2 separate regions of the Homo sapiens genome follow, and region 2 is linked to region 1. The links are contacts of gene promoters, found by promoter capture Hi-C in human tissues and cell types (Jung and others, 2019). All regions are on one chromosome and are shown on one strand. Each heading gives the region's core, a stretch centred on a gene start or on the middle of the fragment in contact. The rest is flanking DNA. Distances are from core to core; before and after follow the strand shown. Region 1 holds the start of CORO2A (coronin 2A). Region 2 overlaps ANP32B (acidic nuclear phosphoprotein 32 family member B).

What was found. The method cuts DNA at HindIII sites, captures the fragments that hold promoters and counts their contacts. A contact is called where the count stands out against the background at its distance.
Region 2: a contact is called between a fragment that was not itself captured here and the fragment with the promoter of CORO2A in region 1, in 2 of the 25 tissues and cell types used here (aorta and thymus).

What each region holds. Positions count from the first base shown.
Region 1 is chr9:98,190,404-98,194,428 of GRCh38, reverse strand. It overlaps CORO2A (coronin 2A), which reads left to right and starts at 1,792. Exons shown (of 12, transcript NM_052820.4): 1 at 1,792-1,870. RefSeq lists silencers at 1,463-2,012, 2,083-2,132 and an enhancer at 2,285-2,939. The HindIII fragment of the contact is 8,969 bases long and covers 1-4,025 here.
Region 2 is chr9:98,009,550-98,013,574 of GRCh38, reverse strand. ANP32B (acidic nuclear phosphoprotein 32 family member B) reads right to left here. Exons shown (of 7, transcript NM_006401.3): 5 at 2,186-2,304; 6 at 1,103-1,154. Among named protein-coding and RNA genes, the nearest start is that of ANP32B, 28 kb to the right of the region's middle. RefSeq lists an enhancer at 2,697-2,766. The HindIII fragment of the contact is 4,064 bases long and covers 189-4,025 here.

The DNA.
Region 1 (4,025 bases), core at 543-3,042:
GTTATTCAGATGCCTTAGCCTGGGAAAGATCATGGTGCCCACCGTCCAGCTGTAATTCAAGTAAAAACCAAACCATGATTATAAAGAATTCCCACAATGTTCTGATTTCATCCATATGTTTGTTTGTTTGTTTGTTTGTTTGAGACAGAGTCCCACTCTGTAGCCCAGGCTGGAGTGCAGTGATGTGATCTCGGCTCACTGCCACCTCCACCTCCTAGGTTCAAGTGATTATCCTGCCTCAGCTTCCCAAGTAGCTGGAACTATAGGCACATGCCACCACGCCCGGCTAATTTTTGTATTTTTAGTAGAGACAGGTTTTCACCATGTTGGCCAGGCTGGTCTTGAACTCTTGAGCTCAAGCAATCCACCTGCCTTGGCCTCCCAAAGTGCTGGGATTACAAGCATGAGCCACTGCGCCCAGCCATCCATATGCTTGATACCCAACTCTTGCACGCTAACACCAGAAGCATGCGTTCAGTCTACCTGCTGGGCAATCCAGCTCCAGAAGGTCTGAATCAGAGCTGTAGGATGGGGTTTTCAGGACCATAGTGCACACTGGGCTTTGGGTGGTAGGCAGGGAGCCCGTCCAGCTCTGGGCAGGGGGGTGGTACAGTGGACTATGGAAGCTGAGTCACATTCTAAGGAGAGAATCAAGAGCTCCCTAAGTACCTTGCCACTCCAAGCCTCAGTTTTCTTATCTGTAAAATGGAGGTAATAATAGTGGCTAAATAAAGCCACTATTATTAGAAGCTTAGAAGAAACGATACAGATATGTAAAGTAGTAACAGTGTACTCTGTTATCCACTCCACAACTATATATTGAGTGGTTACTATGTGCCACGGAGCAGTTCAAGGCCCTCAAGATAACCCGTCTCTACTGAACAAAACCAAGAGCTCTTCACAGACGTGGTGTGGAGTGGAGTGGCTGTTAGCTTAGTAGCCGTGGGAGCCATACTGCCTGGGGTTGCATGACTAGCCGGGTGATCTTAACCTAGGTACTTAATATCTCTGTGCCTCAGCTCTTTTGTGTTAAATAGGTGAGTAATGGTATCAACCTCATAGGCCTGTGTGACAGTGAAGCGAGGTAATGCACAGAAGGCGCTTAGAGGAGTGCGTGGCTCAGTAGTGTTAGGTGGGGGTGGTACCCAAAGGTAGGGCCTCCCCATTGTCTAGTGTCCTCAGGGCTCTCCAGCCAGCGAGGCTGGCAGCAGCGCCCCCGGCTGGTCCCGAGAGAAGGAAGGGCGTCCTCCTCGGTTCCCAGCGGCGCTCCCGGCTCCTCTCCTCCCTGCGGACGGGGAAGCCTCGGTAACCGCTGTAACTGCTCGGGGAAAGGAGCGCTTCCCTGGCCGGGCTCGGCGCGCGCACTGTACCCGGCCGGGATCGTCACATCCAGGGCTCAAACAGCCTTAAGAGGCCGACGCGGTTACTGTCTCCATTTCACAACGGGGGAAACTGAGGCTCCGGGAGGTCAGGTTCCTCATCCCACACCACGCAGCGAGGGCACGGCGCGACGTGGGGCCCGCGGCTCTGCCTGTCCCCAGCCTCCGCCTGGTGGCCGGCAGCCCGCCCCAATCACTGCGGCGTGTGCGCGCCTGTTCCCAGCACGTGTGCGCGCCCCGAGACCCGCCCCGGGGAGCCAGGAGCGCGGTCGGGGTCGTGGGGGCGGAAAAGGGTGGCCAGGGCGGACCCGCGGGGCGGGCAAAAGGGCGGACCTTGGGCCAGGCCCCCGCCCCGCCCTCCGGCCCCGCCCGCCGGGCTGCAGGGGGAGGCGGCGGCGGCTCTGGGCGCCGGGAGTCGGCGGGCGGCGAGGAGCGCGGAGCCGGAGCTGGACGCCGCCGCCGCCACCGCCACCTGCGCGGCAGTCATCAAGGTAGGGCGGCCCTGCGCCGCCGGCCGTGCCTTCCCGGTCTGCGCGATGGGGGCGTCGGGCGGGACGTGCGCGCTGCGGCTGCAGCTCCCGGAGAGGGAGGGATGCGGGGCTCGGAGCGCGGGGGACCTGGCTTTCAGCCCCTTTGCGTGACCTTGCACAAAGCACTGCTCCTCTCCAGGCCTCAGTTTCCCCGTCAGGATAGCTTGCTCATTGGTGGCCCCCTTCTCGCGGGGTTGTTGGGAGGGGCCGCCTCGAGGTCCGGGCTCCCGACGGCTCGCTGCCCTCATGAGCACTGTCTGCACCGCCCACCCCTCCTGCCCGCGGTGAGGGAAGCTCACTCTGGGCGCGGCCAGCCGGTCCCGACAGGCCCCTGCTGTGGCCCGGGTGCTCCATGGGACTCTTGTCGGGACCCTCCCCCTCTTGGCTGCGTTACCTGCTGGGCCTCAGCTTCCTGGTACAGGAAACGGTGGGGTGGGGGGCATCCCCGGGTCCCCGCCAAGCCGGCCTGGGCGTGCATGTGGGGCATCAGCCGGCCCGCCAAGAGGGTTTACTCGTCTGGGGCTGGAGGAGCCCTAGGTTGGAGGTGGCTGGACTCCTGGCGGCACGACTGCCTGGACCAGCCCCACGTAGGCACCTCGATTTAGAGAGTGGTATAGGATAGCTCCTTCCCCTTCCCCACCCGGGCCAGGTGCTGGTGCCTAGCTCTGTGTCCCAGAGCTAGTGTGTGATAAGGTGTGACACACACTAGCTGGTGTGACAAGGGGTGACTGGCGGCCACGCCTGGACCTCAGAGGGGTGACAGTGCCAAGGTGCTGTGTCCGCGTGGCATTAAGGGATGGGGCAGAGCACAGGTCTGAGGGACTGTGGTCCCAGGCTCCCTAGGTAAAGAAGACCTATGGCATCTGGCCCAGCCCCTCTGTAAGATCCCCTCTGGAAGGTCTTGCTGCCCCCTTGCACACTCCTTGTGATAGGAATCTCACTAGTTGTAAACCAAGCTGGAATCTGCTACCCAGTCACTGCCTCTCCTGCTGGTCCTGCTCTGGACACACAAACAACCTCTGACCCTTCCTCCCTCACCCTGGGGCAGTGGTCAGGTCCCTTAAATATGCTCATCTCCAGACCCAGCAGCCCCAGGCCCAGCAGTTTCTCCCATCAGATCCCAGGGAGCCAAGGCAAGAAGAGGGAGCCGAGGTGTCTGCCCTGGAGCAGGCTGTGGGGCCTCCGCTTTCCTGGGGCTTGTTCAGAACCCACCTGTGCATCAGGACTGGAATGTGTCTCCCCAGCTTCCTGCCCCTCCTGGGGACCGTCTGAGAGGTCCGGAGTGAGGAGAGCCGGAGCCCCTCTGCAGGCCTTTCCTGCCCCATGGGGCCTCTTCTCCACCTCCCTGATGCCTGCCCTGTTTGAGGGAGCAGTTTCTAGGAATCACTTCTCAGCCTCCTGGTCTTTCTTGTCCCCTTCATGACCTGCCCTGCACCCAGGGATTTTCTTAACAGCCAAAAGAGGGCAGGAGGCCCCTGGACAGGTAGTGAGCTCTTTGTCATCACAGGTATTCAAGCAGAACCTGGGGGTGAGCTACCTTGGACTGAAAGTCTATGGAATTCTAGGGCTGAAGTAGTGCCTATGACCTTGCCCTGCGGCCATGGTGGAGCTGCACAGGACTGGGAGCTGGACCACAAATGAGTGTTATTATCCCCTCGTAAAAGCAGGCAAAGTATATGTGCTGGCCCATGAGCCCAGCTCCGACGCACAGGCTTAAGTGCTACCTGGGTCTCCTGTCATCTCGACACATGTATAATCTGGGCCCTGTTTTCCTGCTTGCCTAATTCAAGCCTTTTTGGCCTGATTTAGGAGCATGGCAGATTCTGGTTATTAAAAAGTCATGCTATGACTTTAATTGCTAATACTTTTTAAATGCACCATGGAATCATGGAATGTCTGAGCTGAAAGGAGCCTTCAGACGTCGTCTCATTCAACCCCCTCATTTTACAGATAGGCATCCCCTGTCGCCAGAGGGGATGTGACTGGGCAAAGGTCACACAGCAAACCAGCAACCGAGCCCAGGGATCCTGATTCCAAGATTGGAGTGCCTTTTTTTCTCCAAAAAAACACATAACATATAATAAATGAAAGCAGTCTGTATTTATTCCTGTAAAAT
Region 2 (4,025 bases), core at 971-3,470, 180 kb after region 1:
GTCCAGGCTGGCATACTTTCAACAGTATTAAATAAGTAACAGCTATTTCATTTGTCTTGGTTGTAGTGGGGAAAGGACTAACACTGACAAAACTGGGAAACTGCTACATCTATTTATATATCCTGAAAATGATGGTTCAATTATTAAAGCCTTTTTTTAAAAAATGAAAGAACTCCAAACACAGAAACTCACACTTGACAGTAAACCAAATGACTGGTCCTAAAAACACATTTAAAACATGGGGAACAGGCTAGGCATGGTGGCTCACACCTGTAATCCGAGTAATTTGGGAGGCCGAGGTGGGTGGATCACTTGAATTCAGCCAGGAATTCAAGACCAGGCTGGCCAACATGGCAAAACCCTGTCTCTACTAAAAATACAAAAATTAGCCAAGTGTGGTGGTGCATGCCTGTAATCCCAGCTACTGAGGAGGCTGAGGCAGAGAATCCCTTGAACCTGGGAGGTGGAGGCTGCAGTGAGCTTAGATTGCACCAGTGAACTCCAGACTGGGCGACAGAGCAAGACTCCATCTCAAGAAAACAACAGGCCGGGTGTGGTGGCTCACGCCTGTAATCCCGGCACTTTGGGAGGCTGAGGCGGGTGGACCACGAGGTCAGGAGATTGAGACCATCCTGGCTAACACGGTGAAACCCCGTCTCTACTAAAAATGCAAACAATTAGCTGGGCGTGGTGGCAGGCGCCTGTAGCCCCAGCTACTCTGGAGGCTGAGGCAGGAGAATGGCTTGAACCTAGGAGGCGGAACTTGCAGTGAGCCGAGATCGTGCCACTGCACTCCAGCCTGGGCAACAGAGCGAGATTCCGTCTCAAAACACCACCACCACCACCACCACCCCGAAAAAAACCCCATGAGGACTGAAGACCAACAGGACCCTTGCCATGAGACAGGAATAACTGCTGTAGCAGCAGGGAGCCTGCACCAGCACAGACACACTGATGGGACGATAGAAACGAGAATGTGAATGTGTAAACCACCAGAGCCAAGAGTATTTTATTTTCTTCTCAGTGGTATCATATTCTAAATAATGGATGTTTTTCTCTAATTTTTAACTGAGAATGATCAAAATGCATGCATTAGGCCCACCTTCATCCTCATCCTCATCTTCATCTTCTTCATCAAGTCCAAATTCTTCTTCCTAAAGAATAGCAAACAGCATAACATTAAATTAATTCTGCCAAATTGAAAAGTGCATATAGTACAAATTCTGCCAAACTAAGAAGTACAAATAAATGCAACAATATCAATCAAGCAGGAAACTGTAATGTTATTTTTATCTACTTTGATGTACCAAGACCCACTGATTTTCCTTAACGAGCTTTATAATTTTTCTAAGAAAAATTTTTTTTAGAAGCAAGCAGTTCATTTGCTAGATGTTTAATTAGTATATAACTCTGGATAATTCAAGAAAACATCTTAAAATCTCAAATTTCAAAACAGATTTAGACAAAAATTTCTATATCCCATTCATATACAAAGCTTCTTTCAGAACTTTAATGTCAATCATACACCTAATGACATCACACAAACCCCAAGCCTTATTTTTATACTACAAAAGAGGATGCGTTTTGTTAACAACTAATGTTGTCTGCCTGTTTCCCAAACCTCTTTGAGGGTCAAAGTCAAGACACTGTTTTCTCCTGCCCTCGTATAGCATTTATTTCCTCAGGGATCCTCTATTATTGGGTATTTCATAAACCAGACTGTGCTCTTTCAGGGCAGGACCACAATCTCATTTCATTTTGTACTCCCAACTCTTTAACATAGCAGATATATATTTACTGAATTACACTGAATATACAAGAAAAAGTTTAGACTTGGTAAACATAAACTTCCCTACAATTCAATGAAGGAACAGACATACCATCAATTCTCAACATGTCCAGTTTTCTCACCACACTGAATACTCAATTCATTCCTTCCCCCAGAGGGCCAGAACTTACCTTGCACAGCCAGGAACCGTACTAGTTTGAGTTCAGTAGGCATTCTATTTAGTAGTTATTTAAAGCCAGACAAACACTAAATTAACCAGATTCATATTGTAAATGTATTCACAGGTATACTAATTTCTTCAAAAGGTGTTTTTTCTTTTCTTTTGTCATCTTTTTGAAACCCCCACTTTTGTTGTAATTACAAATAGGAAGCAGGGTAGAAAACAGCTGCACTGACCTCCTCACTGACTTCATCGTCGTCCTCATCCCCTTCTACATCTTCATCTTCATCATCTTCTTCATCAAACTCCTCTTCTTCACCATCCTCATCGTCCTCGTCTTCCTCATCTTCTCCTTCTAAAAATAGTCCAAAAGGGATTCATTAAATATCCTCGACGCTCCACAGGGGACAAAGTGTTGAGGATCTGTGGGCTGGCTCACAGAACAAATGCTGTAAGGCCACGAACTGCAGTCACTTTCTTTCTACTATGTGCTACAGCTCAGTCCCTTTGTCCGATAGAGTCCCATAAAATCAGAGAGCTAGAAGTCCTGGTAGATAAGACAAACACTATAATTCTCGCTGATGAAATGATACAATGGCTAAGATTTGCTTCAAAATTATATGGAGTGGGGAAGAAGGTAAGGGTATGCAGGAATAAAATAAGATCAGCTATGACCAATAATTGCTGAAGCTGAGTGATAAGAACATGGGGGTTCATTTTGCTATTATTTTTACCCTTTGTCACTGTCTGAAATTTTTGACAGTAAAAAGTTAAAAAAAAAAAAATCATGTACCTTCTCTTGGGTATCATTACCAGAGTCACAGTCAGCTGCTCAAATCAGGAACCTGAGAAACACCCATAATAACCCTGTGACTCAGGGGACAGGAGGCTGAGAGGCACCTGCATCTCTAGCTGGTTGTTCGGACCTCTAGTGCGGCAGTTCTTGCTTCTCCTGGGTCCTAGAGCACACCATGCTCTCACCTGCCTCCTGGTCTCTGCATGCTCTTTCCATCCTCTTTGCTTGGCTAACTCTGACTCCACCTTGGAGTCTCAGTCAACATCACTTCCTTAGGCAGTCTTACTCACCAGACCTCCCAATGCCAGGTCATAGGCTCTCACCATGAGTATGTGGTGCTTCTCCATTACAACACACTTTGCTTACTTGCAATTATTATTTAGAATTCTTAATTTAAAACAATTTTTTCTGTACAGATAGGGTTTGTCTATGTTGCCCAGGCTGGTCTTGAACTCCTGGATTCCAGCAATCATCCTGCCTCACCCTCCCCAAGTGTTGGGATTACAAGTGTGAGCCACCATACCTAGCCTATTTATGATTTAAAAAAAAAAAACAAAAAAAAAAAAACACCATTTCTCTGTAAGGTCCAAGAGGGTAGGAACCTTGTTTTTTTGTTCCTTTTTTTTTTAAACCACTATTTTCCGCAGTGCCTGGCACATAGGAAATGCTCAAGTATTTGTTGGCTGACCCATCTTTGCTCTCAGGAACTGCCCCCCACCTTCCAAGGAATGTCCTTTACTGGCTCTTGCACATGTGGCTGTTCTTCCTGTTTGAGGTGAACTTAAATAGACAACAAGCACAAATGGTTTTTAGGAAAAATGGAAAAACTGTAGAAGGGACAAAGGGACATAACATTTGGAAATAAGTGAGATGTCCTATTCTCTGTCCATTTTACCACCTTATAACTCATTAATTTTTGCCTGTCTCAATATGCTTCAAAATAAAACTGTAAAAATGCTTCCAGAGAATTATACCATTAACTGCACCCAAACTCCTTGATGCTTTTCCTCCTCTATTTTCTTGATAATTTCTGTCATATGTGCTAATTTTTAAAGAAAAGAAATACTCATGCTGACTGATGTGAAAACTAATCATTCTGCTTCCTCCAAACCAGGGGTTCCCAACTCCCAGGACTGGTACTGGTCTGTGGCCTGGGCCGCACAGCAGGTGGTGAAGAGCAGGCCAGTGACCATTACCACGTGAACTCCGCCTCCTGTCACATCACCTGTTAGATCCTCATAGGAGTGCAAATTCTATTGTGAACTGCGCATGTGAGGGAT